Regions from separate parts of the Homo sapiens genome. Here all the other regions are linked to region 2. Evidence: promoter capture Hi-C in human tissues and cell types (Jung and others, 2019). All regions are on one chromosome and are shown on one strand. The core of a region is centred on a gene start or on the middle of the fragment in contact, and the rest is flanking DNA. Distances in the headings are between cores, read along the strand shown.

What was found. Contacts are between HindIII fragments. The study calls those that stand out against the background at their distance.
Region 1: a contact is called between a fragment that was not itself captured here and the fragment with the promoter of TPBG in region 2, in 3 of the 25 tissues and cell types used here (H1 embryonic stem cells, IMR-90 fibroblasts and lymphoblastoid cells).
Region 3: a fragment that was not itself captured here is called in contact with the fragment with the promoter of TPBG in region 2 in 1 of the 25 tissues and cell types used here (liver).
Region 4: a contact is called between a fragment that was not itself captured here and the fragment with the promoter of TPBG in region 2, in 2 of the 25 tissues and cell types used here (mesendoderm cells and neural progenitor cells).
Region 5: a fragment that was not itself captured here is called in contact with the fragment with the promoter of TPBG in region 2 in 2 of the 25 tissues and cell types used here (hippocampus and mesendoderm cells).

The regions. Positions count from the first base shown.
Region 1 is chr6:82,610,935-82,616,739 of GRCh38, forward strand. The region is part of intron 5 of LOC105377876 (a long non-coding RNA gene); the gene reads right to left. Among named protein-coding and RNA genes, the nearest start is that of TPBG, 250 kb to the left of the region's middle. The HindIII fragment of the contact is 8,326 bases long and covers 1-5,805 here.
Region 2 is chr6:82,361,960-82,367,073 of GRCh38, forward strand. TPBG (trophoblast glycoprotein) reads left to right here and starts at 1,858. Exons shown (of 2, transcript NM_001376922.1): 1 at 1,858-1,949; 2 at 2,664-5,114. The coding sequence starts at 3,003. The coding sequence ends at 4,265. LOC105377875 (a long non-coding RNA gene) reads right to left here and starts at 1,698. Exons shown (of 3, transcript XR_942738.4): 1 at 1,653-1,698. RefSeq lists enhancers at 1,291-1,804, 1,805-2,316, 2,468-3,370, 3,371-4,272 and a silencer at 3,339-3,418. The HindIII fragment of the contact is 6,837 bases long and covers 1-2,862 here.
Region 3 is chr6:82,508,209-82,513,753 of GRCh38, forward strand. No RefSeq gene overlaps it. Among named protein-coding and RNA genes, the nearest start is that of TPBG, 150 kb to the left of the region's middle. The HindIII fragment of the contact is 4,007 bases long and covers 1-3,761 here.
Region 4 is chr6:82,553,399-82,559,031 of GRCh38, forward strand. No RefSeq gene overlaps it. Among named protein-coding and RNA genes, the nearest start is that of TPBG, 190 kb to the left of the region's middle. RefSeq lists enhancers at 4,655-5,287, 5,288-5,633. The HindIII fragment of the contact is 4,446 bases long and covers 1,015-5,460 here.
Region 5 is chr6:82,575,497-82,580,939 of GRCh38, forward strand. No RefSeq gene overlaps it. Among named protein-coding and RNA genes, the nearest start is that of TPBG, 210 kb to the left of the region's middle. The HindIII fragment of the contact is 4,593 bases long and covers 730-5,322 here.

The DNA of each region.
Region 1 (5,805 bases), core at 2,687-5,186, 250 kb after region 2:
GCAAATAACAAGGTACGTTTTGGATATAAGTCATCACGTTCCTTTGGAGCTCGGTGTCTTTGAAAGGGAAGTAGTGTGAGACAACAGTGAGAGGTGGATGTTTCTGTGTCTCTGTGGTAGGCTGAATAAGGCACTTCTCCACAAAATGTCCATATCCCCATCCCCACAACTTGACAATATGATACCTAACATGACATAAAAGACTTTGCAGATGGGATTCAGTGAAGACCTTGAGATGGGGAGACAATCCTGGATGAGCCAGGTGGGCACAAAGTAATCACAAGGGTGCTTATACAAGAGAGGCAGGAAGATCACAAGGCAGAAGGAGGAGATGGGACAAAAGGAGCAAAGGTTGGAGTAATGCTCTTTGAAGATGGAGGAAGAGGCCATGAGCCTAGAAATGCAGACAGTCTCCAGAAGCTGAGAAACACTAGGAAGCAGTCCTGCCAATGCCATGATTTTTGACCCTGACCTCCATAACTGTAAGAGAAGAGATTAGTGTTACTTTAAGACTCTGAGTTTGTTGTCATTTTTTACAGCAGCAATCAGCAACAAATACAGTCTCTATACCTGACTTTGGTCTGAAACTCATTTCAATTTCACCTCTATCTGGGCTAGGGTTACAGTCTCCTACCTGTTTCCTCTGCTTCTATTCTCCATTCCTCCTTTCTGTGAAAGGTTGTCAGATTTATTTTTCTCATGCCCTGGACTGATCATGTCATTCCTCTAAACCAAAGCTCTTAGGCATCCACAGTAGCTGCTAAAATGAATCCACACTTACTATACTGGCATTTAAGAACCTCCACAATCTGGCCTCAGAGTGAATTTCCATCTTTATCTGTACTTCTCTGCAGCATTACCTTTTCATCTAGGCAAGCAGATTTAGTCGCAGTCTCCAGGGTTCTCCTTCTGTATTTCAGAATGCCAGCTGTGAAGGTCCAGGTCACTCTTCCCCCTTCTTCCACATGCCAGTTCATAGTGATTTCCCTCTCTGCTGAACTCTTAGAGACTTTAATGACTGTGTGGTCTGAAACCTCATGTCATCTGTTCTTAGAGTCCAGAGTGCCTGAGAATTGACACACAGGAAATCAACCTAGACTGGATGGGATTGCCATCTAAAGATATGATTCAGAATTTTATGTGTGAACCTGGGAAGCAGATTTAGAAAGTACTCAAGTCAATTAAGGTGTATAAATTGGAATTTTGGGAGCAAAACTAAAACTAATAGAGAAAAAAATGTTCCAGACAACATGATCTAATGGCTAAAGGCCCTATGCTTTCTGGCGTCAAAATCCTGGATCTATTACTGAGTAGTTTTATTCCTACAGCTGAGATTATTATTGATTAAAACAGCTGACTATGCCTGCTCAGGCTGTTATTATAAGTTCATCTTCTGATTATAGTAATTTTCACATATAGCTCTTCCTATGAAGAGAGAATCTACTGGCATGAACTGTGGTTCTCATTGTAAATTGGCATTTAGTTTCATACATCAGTCTCTTATGAATTTGGTTATTAAATTGATCACTAAGGCTAAGTCCAAAGTCACTAAATCAAGTGAAGGAACTAAAGCAATTTGTTGCATTGCTCTGGCCAGTGAAAGAACTTTACACTATCTGCATCTGAATTATTTAGACTGTCTGTAATGATCAAATTCACCAGATTATTGCTCAACCTTCTACTGTAATTTGCATAGATAGCCTCCATGTGAACCTGTCATTGTCCCTGGAAGTGCCAGGCAGCTGCTCCATTGAAAACAATAACAGCTGTGAAGCTTAAATCACTTCATGTTTCAGTAAGATGACAACAGCATGGCATACAAGCAGCAGACTGAAAATTCTTTTCAGATAATGCTGCTGAAAACACAGAACAGAAAAAATCACACAATACAGTTGTGTGCTTTAAATTCCACAGTTAGAGAAGCCAAGGCCTCCCTCAGAGACCCTAGGTGACTCATGGTTTTATAGTGTTGTCTAGAGCATGCTACCTTAGCACACACATTGAATCCCCTAACTCTCATTCCTAAATAAAATGCAAGAGAACTAAGAAGCACTCAGTACAAGTCATAATTTCCTTCATATTCTGGTGCGAAGTCACAGTAATTAATGTATCTATAAACACTCCTTGATGAAGCCCCTCTATATTATTTTTAGTCAAATTCTCTCTTTGGCAAGTGATTACAGAATTACATAAAGTCCCAAACCCCAACAAACATATCTAGCAAAAATAAATAAATAAATAAATAAAATAAAACAAACATCCTTTGTTTCTTTGCACAGTTCCTCATTGCACCATGGTAGTATATATCACTACAAATTAGTACAACCAATCATATAAAATCAAACTCATAAAAACTCAGACTTCAGAAAGGGGGATGCTAAACTCAGAAGACTTCAGATTACCAGAAATTCAGAGAAAGTGGAAGTTGACAATTTCAACAAGTTTTCTAGCTGACCTTTAAATGATTTTGATGAAGAAAAGGGCAGGCCACTTGAGTAGGAGAAATAAATGCTCACCTATGTCAAAATATTTGGCAGGCACTGGGCTGGGCCCTCTGGCCTGAATGAATCTCAAGTCACCTGTCAGAGGACCCGCACTTCTATTACTTTTGGATTTGAAAATAAGAGACCCATGTTTAAAACCAAATATTCCAGCCAGGGCAATACCTCCCTTTGTGCCATCAGGATCCTTTTCAAAAATCTGATCTAAAACTCTTCCTCTGATCAAGAACAATAAGTGGTTTTCCTGCTTAAAAGCCACCAATTGATTTCCATTGTCTCCAGCATGAAATCCTAATATTTCTTAACATAGTCCTTCCCACTGTGGTCTTGACACATCTTTTCTTCTCTCATTTTTTAAGCTGCAATTAACAGCTATTTTTTACTACAAAAGTAATATGTGGTTATTATAGTTACATTAGAAACACAAAAAAGCATAAATATTGAAATAAAAATAAACACCCAGAGATAACCATTATTAATCATATTTAATTTTATGTCCTGACAGTTGCTTTTCGCTATATAGGTATACATTCTCTCTATGCCCTTTTCTTTCACTTTTTATTTTTTTTTCTATATCAGTTCTTTGCTCTAAGCATATTTTCATGAGTATTTTCACTCCCATTACTTAGAAATTAATTAGAAAGGGATCATAATGAAACCATTTTAGTTTACAAGTTATTAAAGATAGCTATAGGAAGATAATACATGTTATGTTAACCAACATTTTCTACTATGTTTTCTAATTTTTTCTTTCTTCCATTTATTCAGGGGTGTTTATTGCCTTTCCTAAGCACATTGTTACAGCAATATTTGGGGAGTGGGGGCTACATCAAATTCTTGATGTCTGAGCTTCCAAAACCTTAATATTTGAGGACCTTATGACATAAAGCTTATACCACAAAGTGTGGATCTAGAAGAATATGTTAGTAGAGTTTGCCCAGGACTGTCCTGGCTTAACATATTAAAGTCCCATGTCTCAAGAACACCCTTAATTCTGGCAAATTGGGACAGTGGATCAACTTAGCAAAAGCCAGCTCTTTGTGTTCCCTGTTGAGATAAATATTCTACATTCCTGTAGGGAAAGAGTCTTAGAAGGCAAGTCCTTGAGGCAGGGCTCTCCTTCTGTATTTCAGAATGCCAGCTTTGAAGGTCCAGGTCACTCTTCCCCATTCTTCCACATGCCAGTTCATAGTAATTTCCCTCTCTGCTGAACTCTTAGAGACTTTAATGACTGTGTGGTCTGAAACCACATGTCATCTCTTCCTGCCAGGTGTCAGCCCTGGATTGATAAGATGGATGGTATCCAGAGCACAGTCCGTGGCTCAAGGGATAGAAAGGAAAAAATTCTGATGATCTGCATTGTTTTTTTCCCGAGAAAAAGGAAATGAGAGAGTTAGGAAGTATGAGGAAAAGTGTGGAGGAAATCATACGTAAGAGAAATATGAAAGAGAGCTGATGAGGGACAGTGTCTACAGCTGCTGGCCCTGCTGAGGGTAGGAGACCAGGCCAGTCAACACAGCTATATCATTGTCCCCAGCCATAGCCAACAACCCACAACCAGGGACTAATGCAAGTGCCCTTGAAGTGACTTGTCATCAACTCCCCAGGGCACAGTTGAACCCCTTCATTTTACAGATGAAAACACAGAAGCCTACAAGAAAAAAAAAACTTACTCAAGATCATTTACTCAGTGGTAGAGTCAGGATAAAAGACCAAGATTCTATACTGTTTATGTTCACTAATTGTTTGAAACAATATAAATAAACATTATAGGACCTATTTTGGGGTTTACATAAGAAATATTTGAAAACCCTCAGGAACTCTGCAAGAGTTAAGGTTTTATTCTACTTACAAACTAACAAATGAGCCTGTTACTATTTCACTGATGGCTGACAAAAGGCATGAGACTCCTGGGATGGAGACAAAAGACTTTATTACTCATAGCAAAAGCAGTGACCAGAGTTTCATGGTTGCTTGCTTCAGGTCCCCATGTGCCCCAAGTTGTATGGGGCAACACAAAGGGCTCATGATGGATGCCTGCAAAGAAAATGGGTTGTATTTACAGGAAAGGAACACTGAGCTTGGGGATTTATTGTTTTTATACTAAACAGAAGCAAGCCTACCTTTGGTCTCCAGGAAAATATTACCTCATCTTTCAAGGTTAGGTTACTCACTACAAACTCAACTCTAAGAAATGTCTCGTAAAGAGCAGACGAGACCCTGTGTTCTTGGCTGGCACACCCAGAAAGAGCATGCAGGAATACTCAGAGCCCACAGAAGAAGATTGCCTCTTCCAACATCTATCATTTAAACTAAATGGAGTAACAAACCTAAGTGGTTACAAGGTATAATACTGCCCATTAGATTTCCCATTCCTTTCCAAGATTGGGAGTTAACTCACCATATTTTAGGAAATAAAATCTTTTTCAAACACTGTGGTACTTTACAAGCACTATATGGACTCCTATAGCCATTTATTTCACTGATCAGTTTTAAAATATGGCAGTTAAACAAGGGTGATATTCCAAGTATTTAACATGGACACCAGTCAATCAGAACAGAAGCTGGCTATAAACAGTGAGTATATCACACAGTTGTATCAGCTGCTAAGTTCTACTAAGACTGAACTCAGGGTTAACTTAAGATACAGGAAGTCGAACACCAAGAATCTGCTGTAGTATATAACAAATGTGCCGCATTTGCGTAGGGATAAGGCAGATATATGAATGCTTGTTAGTGATAACAGTGCTAGTCTATTTGATCTAAATAAATTGGAAGTCAGTTCAGAAAATAACTTTATGGCTCAAAAAGAAAGAAATGTCGTTATTATTTTCCCCATTTTCAAACGAATACGAGGAAACCTGCGTACAAAGACATTAACTTGTTTGGAAGGCCAGGGTAAAGTATGGCTTCAGCTAGAAGAAATTTCTAGGGAGCAACTATTAGAGAAAGGTCAAAGAATTCTTCAATTTAAAAAAAGGTAAAATAATTTTGGGTTATGTTTTTACAGTCTTGAGGAAGTATTATGAGTGACTAAAGCTCTGGGGACAACTAAGTGGCACTTAAGATGCTTCCTTTACATATTGTCAGTGGAGTCTGTCTGGCTAGTCTCTCCAGGAGGTAAGATATAATTGACAGTAAAAAGTTTCCCAAAGAAATTATGCTATTTTCACTCTCAATTGGAAGAAACGCTAAGGCTCATGCACGGCTCATAGCCACTCAATCAGCCACCTACAAATCCAGAAACATCTCAAGGAGAAAGCTCTTGCTTCTTTTTTCCTCATCCACTCAAGGAAAATAATTT
Region 2 (5,114 bases), core at 608-3,107:
CAGTGCTTGGCAAGTGGAAGACACTCAGTCAAGCTAACTTAAAGCCCCAGTTTTTTCATTTGTACAACAGAACAACAACAATAATAGCAACAAGCAATAATACTAACAATATTTATCTTGCCTCTGAGTTGTCTTGAAAATCAGATGAGTATATATATTATGTTTCTAAATTCTAAAGTGTATCTCACTCTCCTAACAAAGCAGTTGGTCTTCAGATCAGGACCAGAGTTAATACCATGCCAGAGCATTATTACAGGTTTTTTCCAATGAGTAATTAATTTTATTTTTAAACTTATCATACAGTAAAATTGACTCTTTTGGTTTACAAAGTTCTATGAGTTATAACACGTTGTATAGGTTTATGTAACCACCACCACAATCCGGATACAGAACATGACTACAGCTTTAGAGATTCTTTTTCAAAGTGTTTTACATTCATGTTGCAAAACACTTTTAAAAATAAGAAAAGAGATGTAGATAAACGTGCTGAAGATGCAAATTAATGAAACCAGCTTTTGTGCACAAATCTCTGCAGTTTCCAGTGTTTTCAGCTTTTGTCTGAGCCATTTTTGCTGTCGGCTTTGCAGACTATCTCTTTCTATAAAAGTAATCAGGCGTCCGTTGGAGAGTTGGGGTCTTTCTTCACACTAAAGGCACATGTCCCAGGCACAAGCCTCAGGATCCTTATTTGATCTTTTTTAATACGACCAGGTCTTAAATTTCCGAACCATGTTTTCCCTAATTGCCATTTTCTCTCTAAAATGAAGAAGCCTGGAAGAACCTTCTTATCCCTTCGGGGAAATTATTTAATTGGGACAAAGGGGATGTGGAGTTACAGAGAGCAACGATAGGGCTTTCAGAACCCAAAACCTGTCTGGTATAATAACAGATCCTTCCGGTAACCAACCATTCAATTTGTCCCTCTCCCCAACCCCATCCTCTCCATCACCATCTGCCAGATGCCCCCTGGGACAATCGACTTTGAAACCAAACTTCTCTCCCAGGTCAGCTCCTGCAATCCCCACTCCTCATCCTTGGAGCTTTCTCCACAGAAGTGACTTGACACACCGCGCTACATCTGGGGAGGGGGGCGGGTCCGCTTTCCGGGAGACTCAAGTCTTTGCTATTTGCCTTTTGTTTCTGGGATGCCTTTGGCTGCCTTTCTCTTCCATCTGCTTTTAATTTTGGTAAGAGAAAAGCTAATGAATCAGGAATGAATCTCCTCTCCACTAATCTTTTTTTTTTCTTTCTCTCTCTCTCTCTCTTAAAGTTGGCGCGCTCTCTTCACAAGTTCCATCACTACCCAAGAAGTGAGGGGGCGGGGGGGACAGGCGGGAAGGCATTAATTACACCTAAATCTGAAGTTTGCGGCCTCAAGTACCACTTTGATGGGGAGAGCTTCTGAAGCTTCCATACAACCTGCCGTGCCTTTGCTGCTGCCGCAGTAGATTTTCAGCTCATTTCTTTCTGCTGCTGCTTCGCGCTGCTCTGTCATGCCTAAATCTATCTCGTCACTGCCAAAGGTGCCTGAATCAGGGTGAATTCCACGAGATTCACCAGCGGTTTTGCTCCAGTCCAAGGTAAATACAGTATGCAAAATGAGGAACCACCCAAGGATGTCGGGGAGGGGGGAGAGAAAGGGATTCCCTCACCTTTTCCGGCACATTCCTCGTTAATTTCCACCAGGAGGAGGCGCGCAGCCCAGCTCCCCTAGTCTCTCTTCTTAAATCCCCCTACCTACGGCTGCCGAGGTTGGCCGCGCGTCGGGAATCTCCCCGACAGTCCTGGCCCTCCCCCGCCCCCCGGGTTGGTTTTTCCCAGCTGCGGAGGTTGGGAGGTTGGGCCAGGGGCTGGGGTGCGAAGAGAGTCGGCGCCCGCAACGCGGAGCCGGGAAGTCGTCGCTACTCTGGTGGAACTCAGAGTTGGTTCTGGAGGCGGCGGACGCGGAGGTGAGCAGTGGGAGCCCGCGGCCTGGGAGAGACCCGGGAGGCGTCGTTGGGGCCCCTCCCCATCCTCGGGTGGAGAGTAGGGTTGGTTCGGGTTGCCACTGTACCCCGAGTCCCACTGCTGCTTTGTTCCCAGACTCTCCCCTCCTCTTTGGAGATGACTTGAACCCCTTTGAGATCCGAGGGGCTGGCGGGGCGCGGGCTGGGGGGCGACAGTTGTAGCTCCACTTCCTGCTAATGCGAGAAGGTACAAAAAGAGATCAAAAAGTCCTGTAACCTGAAACTTCCCTCGCATCCTAACCGGGACCTGGTGGAGAGGTCTGGGCGGGGGCGGAGACACCCGGAGGCCGACCTTCCGCCGAGGCGGTGCAGGAAGGAACGGGAGAGGGAGAAGTTTGGTAGGGAAGGAATTGGGGATTAAGCGGTAAGTTAGACGCGGGAGACGAGTCTCCTCGGGAAAGGCGGAGGGCGGGAGGCCGGTCGGGTTTATTTAGTGTGGGCCAGGGAAGAAGGAAGACTTTGCGGTCTGGGTGTCGGATGCGCGTCCCCCTCCGGAGTAAAAGTGACCGGAGGGGTTGGGGAGGCGAGGCCGGGGCGGGCTTTTGGAAGGAGGTCTCTGGGACAGACTGGAGACGACTAGACTCGAAAAGGCCGGTTTTTGCACTCCGGAAGCCGCGGCAGCCACCGCTGTTCACGCCTCTCTCCTGCTTGTCCCAGGTCCCTCAGAGGATCCAGCGAGGGGCGCCAACAAGAGGCGAAGAGGTGGCACCAGGGCGGCGGCAGGAAGAGGAGCGGGAGCAGGAGCGCGGAGCGGAGCGTCCCGACCCGCCGTGCGTACTTTCTGGAGGGAAGGGGCGGGGGAATCGGCCCCTGAGGGAAGCGCCCGGTGGCGAGGGGGTTAGCCAAGTTCCGGCTGCGGCGCCACTCCCTCGGTTCCACGAGAGGAAAGTTTTTTTTTTCCAGACGCTTCCGCCGGCTCGCGCCCTCCGGGCCCAGCCTCCCGAGCCTTCGGAGCGGGCGCCGTCCCAGCCCAGCTCCGGGGAAACGCGAGCCGCGATGCCTGGGGGGTGCTCCCGGGGCCCCGCCGCCGGGGACGGGCGTCTGCGGCTGGCGCGACTAGCGCTGGTACTCCTGGGCTGGGTCTCCTCGTCTTCTCCCACCTCCTCGGCATCCTCCTTCTCCTCCTCGGCGCCGTTCCTGGCTTCCGCCGTGTCCGCCCAGCCCCCGCTGCCGGACCAGTGCCCCGCGCTGTGCGAGTGCTCCGAGGCAGCGCGCACAGTCAAGTGCGTTAACCGCAATCTGACCGAGGTGCCCACGGACCTGCCCGCCTACGTGCGCAACCTCTTCCTTACCGGCAACCAGCTGGCCGTGCTCCCTGCCGGCGCCTTCGCCCGCCGGCCGCCGCTGGCGGAGCTGGCCGCGCTCAACCTCAGCGGCAGCCGCCTGGACGAGGTGCGCGCGGGCGCCTTCGAGCATCTGCCCAGCCTGCGCCAGCTCGACCTCAGCCACAACCCACTGGCCGACCTCAGTCCCTTCGCTTTCTCGGGCAGCAATGCCAGCGTCTCGGCCCCCAGTCCCCTTGTGGAACTGATCCTGAACCACATCGTGCCCCCTGAAGATGAGCGGCAGAACCGGAGCTTCGAGGGCATGGTGGTGGCGGCCCTGCTGGCGGGCCGTGCACTGCAGGGGCTCCGCCGCTTGGAGCTGGCCAGCAACCACTTCCTTTACCTGCCGCGGGATGTGCTGGCCCAACTGCCCAGCCTCAGGCACCTGGACTTAAGTAATAATTCGCTGGTGAGCCTGACCTACGTGTCCTTCCGCAACCTGACACATCTAGAAAGCCTCCACCTGGAGGACAATGCCCTCAAGGTCCTTCACAATGGCACCCTGGCTGAGTTGCAAGGTCTACCCCACATTAGGGTTTTCCTGGACAACAATCCCTGGGTCTGCGACTGCCACATGGCAGACATGGTGACCTGGCTCAAGGAAACAGAGGTAGTGCAGGGCAAAGACCGGCTCACCTGTGCATATCCGGAAAAAATGAGGAATCGGGTCCTCTTGGAACTCAACAGTGCTGACCTGGACTGTGACCCGATTCTTCCCCCATCCCTGCAAACCTCTTATGTCTTCCTGGGTATTGTTTTAGCCCTGATAGGCGCTATTTTCCTCCTGGTTTTGTATTTGAACCGCAAGGGGATAAAAAAGTGGATGCATAACATCAGAGATGCCTGCAGGGATCACATGGAAGGGTATCATTACAGATATGAAATCAATGCGGACCCCAGATTAACGAACCTCAGTTCTAACTCGGATGTCTGAGAAATATTAGAGGACAGACCAAGGACAACTCTGCATGAGATGTAGACTTAAGCTTTATCCCTACTAGGCTTGCTCCACTTTCATCCTCCACTATAGATACAACGGACTTTGACTAAAAGCAGTGAAGGGGATTTGCTTCCTTGTTATGTAAAGTTTCTCGGTGTGTTCTGTTAATGTAAGACGATGAACAGTTGTGTATAGTGTTTTACCCTCTTCTTTTTCTTGGAACTCCTCAACACGTATGGAGGGATTTTTCAGGTTTCAGCATGAACATGGGCTTCTTGCTGTCTGTCTCTCTCTCAGTACAGTTCAAGGTGTAGCAAGTGTACCCACACAGATAGCATTCAACAAAAGCTGCCTCAACTTTTTCGAGAAAAATACTTTATTCATAAATATCAGTTTTATTCTCATGTACCTAAGTTGTGGAGAAAATAATTGCATCCTATAAACTGCCTGCAGACGTTAGCAGGCTCTTCAAAATAACTCCATGGTGCACAGGAGCACCTGCATCCAAGAGCATGCTTACATTTTACTGTTCTGCATATTACAAAAAATAACTTGCAACTTCATAACTTCTTTGACAAAGTAAATTACTTTTTTGATTGCAGTTTATATGAAAATGTACTGATTTTTTTTTAATAAACTGCATCGAGATCCAACCGACTGAATTGTTAAAAAAAAAAAAAATAAAGATTCTTAAAAGAATTACAGTGTGTGCAAGTTTGCTTTGAAAAAAGGATGAAGGGCAGGAGTATTCAATGGTCTTGGTTCCGATGATAATTATTACTTAACATAGCTGAGAATCAAACTGTAGCAATGTCTAATATAAATAGACTTGGGAGATCGTTT
Region 3 (5,545 bases), core at 508-3,007, 150 kb after region 2:
TATGTTCATCACAGCATTATTCACAATAGCAAAGACATGAAATCAACCTAGATTCCTATCAACTGGATAAAGAAAATGTGGTACATATACATCACGGAATACCACGTAACCATAAAAAAATAAAGTCATGTCTTTCACAGCAATATGGATGCAGCTGGAGGCCATTATTCTAAGTGAATTAATACAGGAACAGAAAACCAAATACTACATGTTCTCTTTTATAAGTGGGTGGGTACAAAGAAGGTAACAATAGACACGACAGACTACTTGAGGGTGAAGAGTGAAAGGAGAGTGAAGATCAAAAAATTACCTATTGTGTACTATGCTTATTGCCTGGGTGACAAAATAATCTGTACACCAAATCCCTGTAATACATAGTTTATCCATGCAACAAATCTGCATATATATCCCCTGAACCTAAAATGAAAGTTGAAAAGAAGAAGAAGGAACAAGTCGATGTTGAAGATAAAGCCTGCAATGGAAGAATATCCACGTCAATTTTCAAGGGAAAAAATTATCTTGCTCATGCCCTAATTGAAGAAGACCAACGATTAACAGTAGAAATAGCCAACACCGTAGATATCTCAATTGGTTCAGCTTACACAATTCTGACTGAAAAATTAGTTAAGCAAACTTTCAACTCAATGGGTGCAAAATTTGTTGTGCCCAGATTAACTGCAGAAAAGAGCAGAGTTTTCAATGACAATTTTAAATATGTGGGATCAAGATCCTGAAGATTTTCTTTGAGGAATTATAACAAGAGATGAAATACAGCTTTATAAGTGCAATACTGAAGACAAATCACAGTAAAAGTGATGGCTACCAAGAGGCTGAAGTGGTCGAGTCAAAGCAAAATCACACCAGTCAAGCACAAAAGTCATGGCAACAGTTTTTGGTGTGCTCAAGGCATTTTGCTTGTTGGCTTTCTGGAGGGCCAAAGAACAATAATGTCTGATTATGTGAGGGCTTTGAAACAGCCAAAGTTTTAGCAGAAAAGTGCCAGAGAGTCCTTCTTCACCATGACAATGCTCCTGCTTATTCCTCTCATCAAATAAGAGTAATTTTGTGACAGTTTCAATGAGAAATCATTAGACATCCACCTTACAGTCCTGATTTGCCTCCCTCTGACTTCTTTTTGTTTCCTTATCTTAAAAAAATCTCTAAAGGGCACCAATTTTTCTTAAGGTAATAATGTGTAAAAAAGACTGCGAATTCCCACAACTTTCAGTTCTTAAAGGATGGACTAAATGGCTGGTATCATTGCTTACAAGAGTGTCTTGAACTTGAAAGAGCTTATGTTGAGAAATAGTTTATATATTTTATCTTTTAATTCTGTTTTTCAATGAACTTTTTGAGGTGTGTGTGTGTGTGTGTGTTTCTATGCCTTTCATTTTGTTTCTCTGGAGAACCCTGACTAAATACAGTCCATTAGCTTACTGATGGATAGCAATCTTATTTCCTCTGCCCCCTGTTAATAAACAATGTTACAATGAATAACCTGGTATATATGTCCCCCTATGCACATGTGGATCTGTAGGATTAAAAGGCAAGTGCACGGCTAAACTGACAGCAAGAAGCAGAGAATGCATATGTCAGTATTAACTCTTTTCTTTTCGGGTCCCTCACTTACCTACAGAAATACATATTTTCATTTATATTGAATTGTCATGGGAAGGCAGGAAGGCTTTTCCTCCTACTGTGCCTCAAGAGAGTGCAAACTTGCATATAATTTCAAATGAACACCCCACAGCCTTCTGTTGACCTTGCAAGCATCAGGGCTGTTCACACATAGTCTGCCATCTGCCCACATCTGGCTTTGCTGCCCAACCTTAACACTTCAGTAGTGTTTTTACACCTTTTTTGAAAAAGAAAAAAGTTATGGGAGCAAATACTATAGTTTGCTGTGCTTTAGCTGGTTAAATGGAGCATAGTCTAGCAAGAAGGGTCAGATCAAATATGTTGGAAATGTGCCACTGACTTTCCTTGTGGCCACAGGAAAGTCACTTTGCCTTTTTGTTTTTCCATTTCCTCATTCATAAAATGAAAGGACTATTGTTCATCTTCCTATTAATTTAACAAATACCTAAAAGTATGAACTAAAGATATTTAATACTTTTAATTCTTATTTAGAATTGAGAGACTAGTCATGTGCATGTATATGAACTTTGACTATCAAAGGTCATTTTGCCAGTCCCAGATTCTGGAAGCAACAGTATGATTTGTGTGAGAGCAATTCCATTGCTATTCCTAACTTGAGCAGTCTTGCAAAGTATTTGAAAAAAATTCTATTTCTTTCAGTGACACTTATGCTAACCTTCAAATCTTGCTTAGGCTAGTAGTTTTTAGTCATATCTATACATATATCTTATTCTTGATAAAGACTAAAGTTGTGGCAATTTTACATATCAAACTAAGACTTTTATGGACTAAGATTATTTTCAGTTGCAGAAATAGGACCTCCTAAATACTCATTTTAAACAAGAAAAGTAAATCATTACACATTTCTAATACTTAAAACCAGAGATGGTTTCTTTAAATTTTATTAGATTTTGAGAAGACACTCTTGATTATGGAAAATAGAAAATTTCTCACCTTAGTTCTCAGAAAATTCAGTATCCATGAGTGTTTAAAAATATAAAATTTGTTATTTAATACTATTATTCCCAAATAAAGCTTAGATAGGTTCAGGCCAAATAAGTACCTAGCCTCAAGGAAGTAGCACCTAAATCATTTTGGTTATTAACACTTTAAACAAACTAGCTCATTAGATTTGCTAGCTAGGATTGGGGCACCTCTGTAACTGGAACTAGTAGAGGAGGTCCAGAACCCCCCAAACTATTTGAGAACAGCAGTAGAGATTAGGGTGTTATAAAAAGAAGGTATGCAGCAAAGAGAAGGCAGCAGGTAAAGGGGGGCCTCTGGGAAGGAGAGATGAAGACTTTAAGGAAGGGAAATGGTGCTAATGACAAATTTTGCTAACTTTTAAATTTCATTACTTTAGAGAACAGAATTCTAGGAACCACAGAGGAAGGTCTTACAGTCCAAGCACCAGAGCACCTAAGCAAGTTACATGTCTTCTGTGAAGAGCAGCTGATAAAATCTGGGAGAATGGCCCAGTCATACTGGCTATTCCACTTTGCAATCTATGAAGTCCCTAGAATAAGAATAACCCCAAAAAGAGGATAGCAGACAACAGAGATCCCAGACAATAGAAAACCATCATCTAGGCTTTATCTTTTTTGTTGCAAATATCTCTTCGATTGAACCATAAACCTTCATAAATTTAATAGATAAATCAGAACTTTGGAGGGATATGATGGCGGGGACATGTAGCTTTTCTTTGTTTGAAGTTTCACAGAATTGTTAAACTAAAATATTAGCTATTTTGAGGCATGGGTGTGTAGGAAGACTTTTTTTCTCACTCAACTCATGCATATTTTATGGTATAGATTTTTTTTATCATTTCACTAAGATTCACATTTGAAAGCATACACCTTGAGGCGGATATGGGAGTGCCATGCCACTATCTGAACTTTGTGGTTTCCTGCTCATTGTCATGTATTCAACTTTTGGAACAAGTCTGTAGTGAATGGAAAGTCTGGCGTACATGTGAATTTAAAACAATGTAAAAGCATTGAGACCAGCCTTTCACCTCTTTCCCATCCTCTTCTTTCTCTTTCTTCATCCCTTTTGATGCTTTTAAGCATAACATAAATGTATCTCATAAGGAAAATTGTATAAATCAGTTAGTGATTTTATATTTTACCCTACTAAGGGACATTTGCACTTGAGCAAGGAAAAGTGAAAAGAGTATTCCTAACTGGAAAGAAAAATCCCTAACGGGGTAGAATTTAAAGTCCACTTTTACATAGGTTGTGGGAGTCATTTTGTGGTAAATGGTAATACAAATGGTGAAAAAGTATCTCATGGCTATATTGCCCTTATAAAGTATGTGAAATTTGTTATAGGAAATAATTATTTCTTGCTAAAAGTGTAGCTATCTTTTAAGTCAGTGGTTTCCAAACATGACTGTACATCACAATCTCCTATGAAATTTTTTAAAAACCACAGATTCCATGTCCCAACTCAGTAGCCTATTTTCTGAGCCTTGCACCCTGAGTTTCAAGCACAAAGCTGGGCGGCCATTTGGGCAGACACTGAGCTAGCTGCGAGAGTTTTTTTTTCATACCGCAGTGGCTCCTGGAACACCAACGAGACAGAACCATTCACTCCCCTGGAAAAGGGGCTGAAGCCAGGGAGCCAAGTGGTCTAGCTAAGCAAATCCCACTCCCACAAAGCCCAGCAAGCTAAGGTCCACTGGCTTGAAATTCTCACTGCCAGCACAGCAGTCTGAAGTTGACCTGGGATGTTGGAGCTTGGTCGGGGGAGGGGCGTCCACCATTACTGAGGCCTGAGTAGGCAGTTTTCCCCTCACAGTGTAAACAAAGCCACTGGGAAGTTTGAAATGGGCAAAGCCCACCACAGCTCAGCAAAGCCACTCTAGCCAGACTGCCTCTCTAGATTCCTCCTCTCTGGGCAGGGCATCTCTAAAAGAAAGGCAGCAGCCCCAGTCAGGGGCTAATAGATCAAACTCCCATTTCCCTGGGACAGAGCACCTGGGGGAAAGGCCAGCTGTGGGGCAGCTTCAGCAGACTTAAACGTTCCTGCCTGTCGGTTCTGAAGATAGCAGTGGATCCCCCAGCACAGTGCTCAAGCTCTGCTAAGGGACAGACTGCCTTCTCAAGTGGGTCCCTGATCCCCATGCCTCCTGACTGGGGGACACCTCCCAGCAGACACCTCATACAGAAGAGCTCCCGCTGGCATCTGGCAAGTGCCCCTCTGGGACGAAGCTTCCAGAGGAAGGAACAGGCAGCAATCTTTGCTGTTCTGCAGCCTCCACTGGTGAGGCAAACAGCCAGGCAAACAGGGTCTGGAGTGGACCTTCAGCAAACTCCAGCAGACCTGCAGTCGAGGGGCCTGACTGTTAGAAGGAAAATTAACAAACAGAAAGGAATAGTATCAACATCAACAAAAAAAAATGTCCACACAAAAACCCCATCCGAAGGTCACCAGCATCAAAGACCAAGGGTAGATAAATCCATGAAGATGAGGAAAAACCAGCACAAAAAGGCTGAAAATTGCAAAAATAAGGATGCCTCTTCTCCTTCAAAGGATCACAACTCCTCACCAGCAAGGGAACAAACAGTATGGAGAATAAGTTTCACGAATTGACAGAAGTAGGCTTCAGAAAGTGGGTAATAACATACGCCTCTGAGCTTCTAACCCAATGCAAGGAAGCTGAGAACCTTGAAAAAAGTCAGTTGAATTTCTAACTAGAATAACCAGTTTAGAGAAGAACATAAATGACCTGATGGAGCTGAAAAACACAGCACGAGAACTTCGTGAAGCATACACAAGTATCAAGAGCAGAATTGATCAGGCGAAAGAAAGCATATCAGAGATTGAAGATCAGCTTAATGAAATAAAATGTGAAGACAAGGTTAGAGAAAAAAGAATGAAAAGCAACAAACAAAACTTCCAAGAA
Region 4 (5,633 bases), core at 1,988-4,487, 190 kb after region 2:
CCTTTTGTTTCCTGCACATCACTTTCCTTTTTCCGTTCATAAATGTTATCTGACCATGCAGCAGCCCTGGAGTCACTCTGAACCTATTCTGGTTCTGGGAACTGTCTGATTTGTGAATTATTCTTTGCTCATTTAAACTCTGTTAAATTTATCTAAAGTTTTTCTTTTAACTGAATAAATGACACTTTCTTCTAATGAGGTAAAAATACTGCTGGCATAATTATTTCTAACACAGATTTGAAATCTAGATATAAAAAGGGGCATCTTGCATTCTCAAAAAAGTTAATAACTATAAATAATAATAGCCACTATTTATTGAGCACTTACTATGTGCCAGGTACTCACCATGTGCTTTTCATGCAGTATCTCATGTAATGTTTGTTAAACAGTATTGTTGTGCTGTTTAGAGATTAGGAAATGGAGATAGAGTTCAAGTAACTGCCCATCAAATAACCCCAAATCTGTTTTAACATCAGAGTCCTCAAATATAGTCATCATGCCAAATCTTTCAAGCCCACAGCAGGGTTCTCTCCAATGCTATTGCTTTATTTCACCACCCACTGTTGTCTTATGACCATCACATAACAAGAGTAACTCCAGACTCAAAGTATCCTGCCAGCAGAAGAGCAGGATATAGTTATTTTCCTTATCTGGATGGCTTACTTCTCTTTGTGATCTTATTTTGCACTTTATACATTCCAGAACTCAGTTCATTCGCTGCATTCTTTATGGGAAAAGACAGAACATAATGGGAAAAAGCATTTCTAAGATTCTACTAAAAGATTTCTGAAACTGAAACAGATTATGTCTTTTAGCAGAAGGCTTATCTTTAAAGTTTTGTTATTATCAACCTTTAACCAGTCTCCAGATTTATAATTGCTCTATCTATAATCTAAGGAATCCCTACAGTGCTGGATTCTCAAAAGGTGAAAGTTCTAATCACCCAGGGGTCAGGGAAGACTTCAAGGAATTTAGTTTCTTTTCTCATTTCTGCCCCTTTGGCAATTCCCTTCACCTCTCCAATCTTTCTCTCCTTTGTCACTTTCTGGGATACATGAGATCTGCCAAAGAGAAGTCGAGTTACTCTATCCAGAGCCATTTTCTTTATTCACAGATTGCAGAGGAGAAATTCAAAGTTGAAAATTGTTCAGGCCCAAGAAAAATACATAAACAAGCAGCCAGTGTAGACACCAGAGGGAAAAAAAATGCTACACTTGGAAGAACTCCTTAATACCTTATTCGATAAAAATCTCCTGCCCTCCCAAACTATTCCTTTAAAACAAATGAGCCCACTCATTCCTAAATGGTGATGCTGTGGTGACCCTATACCATAGCTTTCAACCCCCAGCTGTGTAGCCAGTCTCTATTAAACCATGCCTAGTATGTGCTCCCCAAGGGAATGTCCAGATTTTCTAGAAAAACAACAGTGGCTCTAGAACCTGAGGAGCTCTTCTAAAGATGGCAATGAGGCAACTTAAGTGCTACCAAAAGAATTCCTCATTGGCCAGGCTCCATGGGGAAACATCTGAGATCTAAACACTTAAGCCATGTGGCTGTCATATGTCTTCTATGTTTTTCAGGCCACTCAGATCCCAAATCGCAAGAAGTTGAAAAACATGGGATTTTCATGTAAATTCTGTACAATTACTCATAGGTGATGTTCTGCCACACATACTTGTAGGTGTGACATAAATCTGGACTTAGGAAATATGGTTTTTAAGAGCCTGTCATTGCTGTGGATTTAGTTTTAGGGAGCTATGAAGAAACTTTAGGCTGACCCTGACAGAGTGGAAGGAACAAAAGAAGACAGCAGAGGGTATGAGAGAATCGGAGGAAGAAAAAAATTAGGAGGCAGAACAAAAGAGAAAAAAGTGAGAAGGAAGAGATGTTCAAGCCATATGTTTCTTATGGTGCGAAGGCATACATGAGGTGGAAAAGATTCCAGAAGAATTTTGCTATAAATGTAAAAATAGAATTGCCCATTTCTGGGTTAAGAATACATTTCTTCCAGGAAGAGTGTTGTGTGTTTTGTTTTATTCTTAACCTGAGTCCCTTGACCCTTAAGTGGCTCATTGTATAAGCTGTGCGGAGTTCATGAATCCCTTGAAATTACCTACAATATGTGGCATGTTCAACTCTATGCATGTGTGGCAGTCTGGTTATATCAGTTTTTCAAATAGTTTTTTTTTCTTTTGCCCAAAGGAAGTTAAAACCAGGGCACAAAAAGGAATTTATTTGTAGTTTACCTTGGATCACCAACTGAAGTTCTGAGTTCACTTAACTGTGAAAGGATTCATTACTCTATTCCTGAGAAAATTAATCCACGAATCTCAGACCTAGAAAAAATTGAAATGCTATGTGTCCCATTTATTTGCTTTCAGAAAGAACTATGGCCTAAAATAAGTGAAAATATATTCATTTTTCAACCTCTGCAGAGCAGATTGCCAAACCTTTTTTGGTAGCCTATTCATCTGTCACATTTCTCACCATAAGGAAGTTCTTCTTTATGTCAAGCCTAACTCCCTCATGCTGCAAAATAATTTGGTCTCATATGTTTAACAATGCAGCATTTTTGGACACTGTTATTATATCCATCCTCAGCTTTCTCCCAGTACTTCTGACTCTTCCATGAGTCATTCTCAAAACTATAAATCATCTTCACTGGCTTTCCTTTGAATTATTTCCCTTTTACGCTTTTCTCTAAATTCAGAAGTGAGGATACTGGAAAGAGATTGATAAAGCCCTCAGTTGATTGGTAGACTTCCCTATGGTCATTGGCTTACCACAGCCTATATGACATATAATAGTAAGTTGCCAGAAATAAGAACTATAGGATTGCCCTATGAGAGTGAAATTATAAAATTAATATAAAACATCCCAGATTAAGACAGATTTAATGGGAAAAAAATCCAGAACCAACAGGATGGTCATTTGATTAAAGATCACATACTATGAGAAAGATGGTGTTGCTCAGAAGAGGTGTTGATCAACCAGGAAAGCTTGAAAAGGGAGAATCACAGAGTTAGATCTTGGCAATGCCCACCCAAACAATATCCAGGGAAGAGGGTGTTGGTCAGGTTATTCTGACACTTGGCCACGATGGTCTCCTTGTGGAGATTGCTATAGTAGCTCTGAAATCTTGCTGTCATTACACCAACCATGGAACCCACTGGGGATTTGGCTGTCCTTGTCACTTGCCTATAGGAAGCAGAGGTGCTATTCAGACCAACATGACTTTCTGGTCTCTGGCAGTTATATTTTTCATAGAAAGTTAACAAATTGGTATTCTGTTAGCACCCAATTTGTGTCAGCCTGCTCTATATTTAATCAACTATATCATCAAAGAAAACAAATTTCTGCATCTGTAAGACAGAGTTAGACCCAGGGCAGAGGTGAATGCCACCTCCTAGAGCCTTATCATTGCTTCCTCCCTGGATGCTTTATTCAAACTTGAGTTCTTCGTACTTTTCTTTAGGCAAAAGGAAGGCTGAACAATTCCTAAAGTTTCCAGAAGTTCTAAGACTCTGTTTTCATAATATCACCAAATAGTTTCTTTTTTTTTAACACATTTAGTCAGTCCATTTTTATTTATATGTGTGCAATTTTGCATTTCTCCCACATGACTGTGCTTTATAAAAATCTAGCATTTTGTATATGCTTAATTTTTGATTCTAATCCTAATTCCAGTTCAACATGTTGGCCACTCAATCTCTCATTTTACTGTCTAGCTTGTTGTCATGGGAAAATAAATGAATAAATGAGAATGGTCTCCTTTATATCATTTGTCAACAGAAGATTGATAATATTCTTCGGTGTGGTCTGCATGGGGAAGCCAAAGTCTGATTTGTTTGAGGTGACAAGTAGTAGTCACTCTTTGGAGACTGCTGGATGGTCTGTTGTTAACCTGACATCATGCATTCCCTCCTATGTGATGTAGATGTGTAGGGAAATCCATTGCATAGAATGTTCTTTTTTGTGTGATTGCATATTAGAATTTGCCAGTGAAAACAATTGATGCAAGATTGGGAAGGCAGAGGGAAGAGAAGCCATTATGCCCAAGAACAATTGTTGCGGAGGCCAAACGTGTTGGTAAACAGGTTCCTTAGGCTTCTTCAGAGTGCCTGCTTTGCTGCTTCAGACTGCTCTGTTGGTGGAAGCTTTTCTAGAGAGTATTGGGAATTTCATCCATTTCCCCCCAAAATTTAGAGGACATACATTTTAGGTTAAGGTAACTGTTTCCCTAGCCTCTAACCTATACAGCCTCCCTAACCCTCACTCCTCAGCTCTGTCCATATCCCAGAGGCCCTAATTCCTCTGTGAAACCCCTTTAATCCTATCACACATGTCAAAGCCCAACTAATTCAGATACCAGGTAATGATGTACCTATATTTTTCCAGGTTTCTGAAGAAGTTATATGTGACAAATTCAAAAGTCTTGCAAAGTCAGGAAAGATTATATCTATTATTTTGCATTGTACCCTAGCCAGATATTTTGTTATAAAAGTTTAAACCAACAGGACTTTTTCTTTACAAATCAATGATGATAATTCCTTATATTTCAGTCCTCTTCAGGGTGCTTATTAACTGATTTTGGTATCCCTCTGAATCATACACTTTGTGATATGATTTTTATTAGCCTTGCTCTACTCCACAATCAAATACGAGAAAACTTACCTGGAGGTTAAATCCTGAAGGGAAGGTAAACATAAAGTCTATTGGTTATGATATCAAATGTTTACTTGAGTAAAAGAAAATGTTTTTTATTGAACTTTAGCATTTTCTTCCTAACATTGGCAGGTTTATACATTAATATTAGCTTCTAAACAGGTATCCAACTCAGAACTCTTCATTGATGGTCCATCCCTAGCGAAGTGTCCTTAACTCATTGGCTCTGAAGAAGAAAAAGGAATATGACACTAGCAGGCATCATGTGCATTTAAACAAAGTCACCCTTAAAGAAATGCTGTAACTCATACATGCAACTTAAAAGCAGTCACCGGAGATCGAGGAGCCAAGATGGCCGAATAGGAACAGCTCCGGTCTACAGCTCCCAGCGTGAGCGACGCAGAAGACGGGTGATTTCTGCATTTCCATCTGAGGTACCGGGTTCATCTCACTAGGGAGTGCCAGACAGTGGGGGCAGGTCACTGGGTGCATGCACCGTGCGCGAGCCGAAGCAGGGCGAGGCATTGCCTCACTTGGGAAGCGCAAGGGGTCAGGGAGTTCCCTTTCTGAGTCAAAGAAAGGGGTGACGGATGGCACATGGAAAATCGGGTCACTCCTACCCGAATACTGCGCTTTTCCGACCGGCTTAAAAAACGGTGCACCACGAGATTATATCCCACACCTGGCTCGGAGGGTCCTGCGCCCACAGAGTCTCGCTGATTGCTAGCACAGCAGTCTGAGATCAAACTGCAAGGCGGCAGCGAGGCTGGGGGAGGGGCGCCTGCCATTGCCCAGGCTTGCTTAGGTAAACAAAGCAACCTGGAAGCTCCAACTGGGTGGAGCCCACCACAGCTCAAGGAGGCCTGCCTGCCCCTGTAGGCTCCACCTCTGGGGGCAGGGCACAGACAAACAAAAAGACAGCAGTAACCTCTGCAGACTTAAATGTCCCTGTCTGACAGCTTTGAAGA
Region 5 (5,443 bases), core at 1,776-4,275, 210 kb after region 2:
GTGACTTACAAATAATTCTTGAACCTTCAATCTTCCACATGCAGAGAGCTCTATAGCTTCCAACAAGGGCATACCAAATGCTATTGCAGATGTGGCCAAGGAAGAGGGGGAAAAAAGAAAGAACCTCCTAGAGAATGGATCCAGGGGCCACGGAGTTCCTACCAGAGAGCAGAATCAAGTCTAAACAGGAGCTAATCAGAAACTTCTCTCATTTCCAAGGCAGAGAAACTTCACAATGCCTGACCTACAGGATTCCCTCACTGCTCTGCACCAGTGACTGCTATGTCTTCCATTCTTCTCATAGTGTTTATTGTGACTTTCCTCCCCTTGCTCCATCATTGTGTGGTATCTTTAGAGTTCAAAAGTCACCACACCATGAAGTGCCACATCTTGACCTCCACATCAGTCTGAGATCCTAGACTTTGAGCTGAATGCGGTAGCTATAGGACTTTGAATTGTGTAGCTTGAGGAGGATGTCAGTGTGTTTTATGCATGGAAGGAAGAGTAAAACAGATATTTGGTGACCAAATGGGGGTGACATGGCAGAGAAAATGTTATGTGTTTACCAAACTTATTTTCTTTTCTTCCTGTGCATAGAGTCCAGCTGCCATCACAGTTAACACGGTCATTCAACTGAGTCCTAACCAAAGGAATGTAGGCATAATTGAAGCATATACCATATCCAGAACTTGCCCACAAAATCTATGGCACTATTTCATGTCCTCTCCCTAGCTGCTAGTTGTATGTCAACACCAGAGAAAACTTGAGAGATACACATATTTTCAATGTGTAAATTATTGACCTGAGTCCTTGGAAGATCTTATGGAGAAGAGCTCCCATCCCATACCCGCAACTGACACCTAAACCACACTGGACTAAATAAGACTGTTTACAGCAGCTTTATTTATAATACCCCAAATGGGAAGCAGCCAAGATGTTCTTCAACAAGTGAATAGATAAACAAACTGTGGTATATCCATATAAAGGAATACTATTCAGCAATAAAAAGGCATAAGCCATCAAACCATGTGAAGACATGGATGAATCTTAAATGTATATTACTGAGAGAAAGAAGCCAGCCTGAAAAGGCCAGTCTGTATCTTTCCATTTATATGACATTCTGAAAAGGGGAAAACTATACAGATGGTAAACAGATTACTGGTTTCCAGGGATTCAGGAAGGGGTGGATTAGGACAAAGTGAAATAATTAAAGCACATGGGATATTTTAGGACAGTAAAACTATTCTTTATGATATTTAATGGTGGATACATGACACAATGCATTTGAGAAAACCCATAGAATTTTAGAGTATAAAGTGTGAACCTTATTATATGCAAATTTAACAGAAATCATTTAAAGGTTGAAGGATCCCAGTATGGAATATAGACTGTGACCCCCTGCCAAAAAAAAATCTAATTTTGTTACAAAGCTATGAAATAACCTCATCAACAAGGAAAAAGGTACTAACTTAGGTGATTTTGGAAATGAGTGTGTCTATAAGACAAAAGGCAGAAGGAACTATACCTAAGCACTGTTCTATAGTTGATAAAGTTATTTCCCACAGGGATATAAGTTAGTAATTCTAAAATCAGTATATGTGGAATATAACAATTACCTAAGTAGATGTCAGGTGGTAAAAGCCAGATTTCTCACTGGTGAAATGGAAGGTCATAGATAAGCAAGGGGAGAAGTCTGGAACAATCCATGGGGTAACAGATTAGAGTTGGAGACATCAATATGAAATCATGTTTAGCTTAATATTTATATGGTTGGTAAAATATAGAAATATTTATAGATATGTGTATATAATCAGATTAGTATATACCCATATGCAGGTATTTCCTTGCTGTGCCAGCTCACAGTGCATACAAGCAATGACATTCCAATAGCATTGAGTAAAACCGGTATCCAGATACTAGTTTCTAATATCATTCTCCAATAAAATGAACCAGGGATAGCTGAAGAGAAGGCTGATTCTAGGATTGGAGCAGGAAATGTTTAAGATGAGCCTGGAATATCTATATTACCAGAACGTAGGAAATGCCCCAAAAAAACAAAAACACAAACCAATGAGATTATATTAAAAGTGCACAGAAGCCAATTAAAGGCACTCTCAATTGTCAAAGCTGGAACAATTCAACCAATAAAATAAATATAGTATTATATCACATCTCAAAGTATAAAGTAATTATCTATGAGTCCATATGTATATAAAATATTGGAATTAATAAATAAATGAGGGAGAAGAGATAAATCTCCCATGCAGAAGAATTCCAAATAATCTATGTAGAGGGATGCACAAAGTGACTTTCTTCCAAAGAGTACAATATGTAAAATGGTTTAAAAAAAAAAAGTGTGACTGTAGTGGAGAAACTTGGCAGACACTACCCTGGCCAGATAGTTAAGGTTAACATTAACAATGTTAATCATGTTGATAGTACGTATCCTTAATGGATGTGAGCGGTTTACCTCGGTATCTTCCCGCAAACCCATAACCCCAGCTTAACCATGAGAAGAACATTAGACAAATCCCAACTGAGGAGTGTTCTACAAAATTCTTGACCAGTACTCCTTAATGCTGTCAAGGTCATTAAAAACAAAGAAAGTCTGAAAAATTGGCACAACCAAGAGGAGCCTAAGGAGTCATGACAAATAAATACAATGTGGTATTCTGGATGAGAACCTGGAACAGAAAAAAGATATTAGGAAAGAACTAAAAAAACCTGAATATAGTATTGACTTTCATAAATACTAATATATCAATATCAGTTTAGTAATTGTGACAAATGTGCCATATTAACTTAAGACATTAATAATAAGGTAAATTGTCTTTGGGTATGCAGGAATTCTCTGTACTATCTTTGCAATGTCTTGTAAATAAAATCTTTTCTAAAATTTAAGATTTAATTTTTAAGCTTAAAAAAAGAAGTATAATATACTATTATGAGTATTTATTCTTTTGTTAACTTTTTCCCAAGTTAAATTAATGGGGCTGGATTAGAGGGTTTATAAGGTTACTTCTAAGATTCTATGATTCTATGATATAAAACTACCAAGAAACTTAAACAAACAAAAAAAGAACCTCTAATGATATTGGCATTAAGAGATAGTCCAGTTTCTTAACAAATAGCCCAGTAATCTTACTATTATTATTTTTCAATTCAATATCTATCCAACAATTAGAAAAAAACTAACAGTTAATTTTCATATTTTTCTCAGCAATAATCAATATGCAGTGTTTCCCAATCTTTTCTCACAAAATCACTGCTAGAGCAAAAAATCATTTTCTGATATAGAGTGTTTACTGAAAATGAACTAGCACAGCATGGGAAAGGGTGGTTGTTTTTAAGCAGGCCCATTATATTCCTCTGGAGAGCAATGGTGTACATACTCAAGTCAATTCATTAGGACATGGGGCTGATGATGAAAGCATGTAACAAAGGAACTGCTGTGGCTTCACATTAGCAAATGTGATGATCGGTGGTGGGATAACCCTTTGGGAACATCTAGTATAAGGAAGGGAAGAGAAAGAAAGAGTTTTCCATTTCTTCTCTAAGATGAGAGCTACCATTTCCTCTTGCTGTACTGTGCATAATGGGTGGAGAAGAGGCAGGGGGTGAGAACGATGAAGGTTCTCAGTCGGTGGTTGTAGGGGGATGCTGATCTGCAGCAAGAAGACACAGTGGGTGAAAAATTGCTGAGTAGTTGTATCTGACATGAAACATGTCACATATTTTATCAGTTGAATAACAACAGAGCTCAGCTTATAACTAACTTATAAAACAGGCTCTATGGCACGATGTGGGTGAAGAGGATTCAGTGCATTCACGTTTGTATCACTCTTGCTTCTGGCAGAAAGGAAGGTCTTTTATTATTATTATTCTGATTTTTTAAACTTGTGACTTTAATACCTACATCTTTTTCTTAAAATTTTCAAGAAGAGATTTAAGAAAAGCAGAGAAAAGACTGAGTTGAAATCAGAAGAACCTTGTTTGATTTATGCTTTCCGATTTTTAAAATTTCAAACAAGCAATACATGTTATTGAACACTTTTATGTTCCTGTTATATACTCTGCTCTTTGGAGATTATAAGAATGTAAAACAAGGACCTACTACTGTGAAGTAACTTGACCCCAATCTACAGCAGAGCCAGAGGAGGTAGACAAACAAGGAAAATGAGAGAACATTGAAGGACTTGCCTGTTTGGAAACATCAGAGCATTCGGAGATCAGAGATGAGCAAAGCTAACAGAAAGGAAGGCCAGTAAAAATTAAAATGTGATTTCTAACATATGTTTAAAGAATACATTTTTATTGTTTATGAGTGCTTGAGGAGAATTATGCAAAAGGACACCTTTAACAATGGGGTAAGTGTAACCTTGCCAAAAGGACCTACTTACCTGGAAGGGCATGCCAATAAGACCATGGTCAGAAAGAACACAAATTTATAAGCAGCCAATTCAAAACATTCTGACTCCAAAGGAAAGTCACAACATCCCTTGTCCTGTCTCCTCTGGGTCCCTGTCAGGTCATTCAGAGTTATCTAGGAATGGGCACCCCAAAATCTATTTTCCCTTCAGTCCTCCCATAGCATCTCAGCTACTTCCAGCTATTGCTTGTTGTTGTCAAACTATGGAAAGCTATTCCTGGATCCATTCTGGGAGCATTTGTGGAGTATTTATAAGACTAAACAGATTCTTCTTTGGCCAATATTCATCATCTCTCAGGGCTGATGTATTATTTTGCAATAAAACGAAAACAAAACCTTCTCACCAATGATAATGAAGAAGAGAAGTTAAAGGAATAAAGAAAATGTTATACTATAATACGCCTAGTACATGTAGGTTTGTGGGGCCAAAGTACTTGAAAATGGCTATCAAATAGGTATTTATTAAATGGGCTTTTATTTACTCTTCCCAAATAAACATCATATTTATGCTATTTCTTTACTTAAGAAAGAAAAGTCTTGTTCTTCTACAGAAGTAGAAGTTATTTTCAGTTTCAATTTTATCAGAATTGTCAAAAATTATTTATTAAGGGAGTCCTGATAAGTGAGATGTTACACTATTTAGATAATTTTTTTTATAACTCAGTTCTTTTGAGCCATTGCCATTGCCTTGCCTGCTTGCTGTCTGGAATATTTTCATTTCTTCAGTAAATGCTTCATAATTTAGTCCTATACTAGAAATATTTTAACAAAAGGCATTGTTTTGAGAGGATATGAAATGGTTTTCAAAACAGAAGTTTCTAAAGATTCTACTTTATGCAGATAAAATGTCCCAAATGTCATTTCCATGATGTTATAATGAATAAAATGAACTCTTACTGTTAAATATAGACTCCTAGTCCCCAGTGAAGACCTGCCTATTTGTGGCAGCACAGTGAAAGAATATGTGCATGCCCTGGGAGGTCTCAGTAACCAGGTCGGAGCTGTAACACTTGT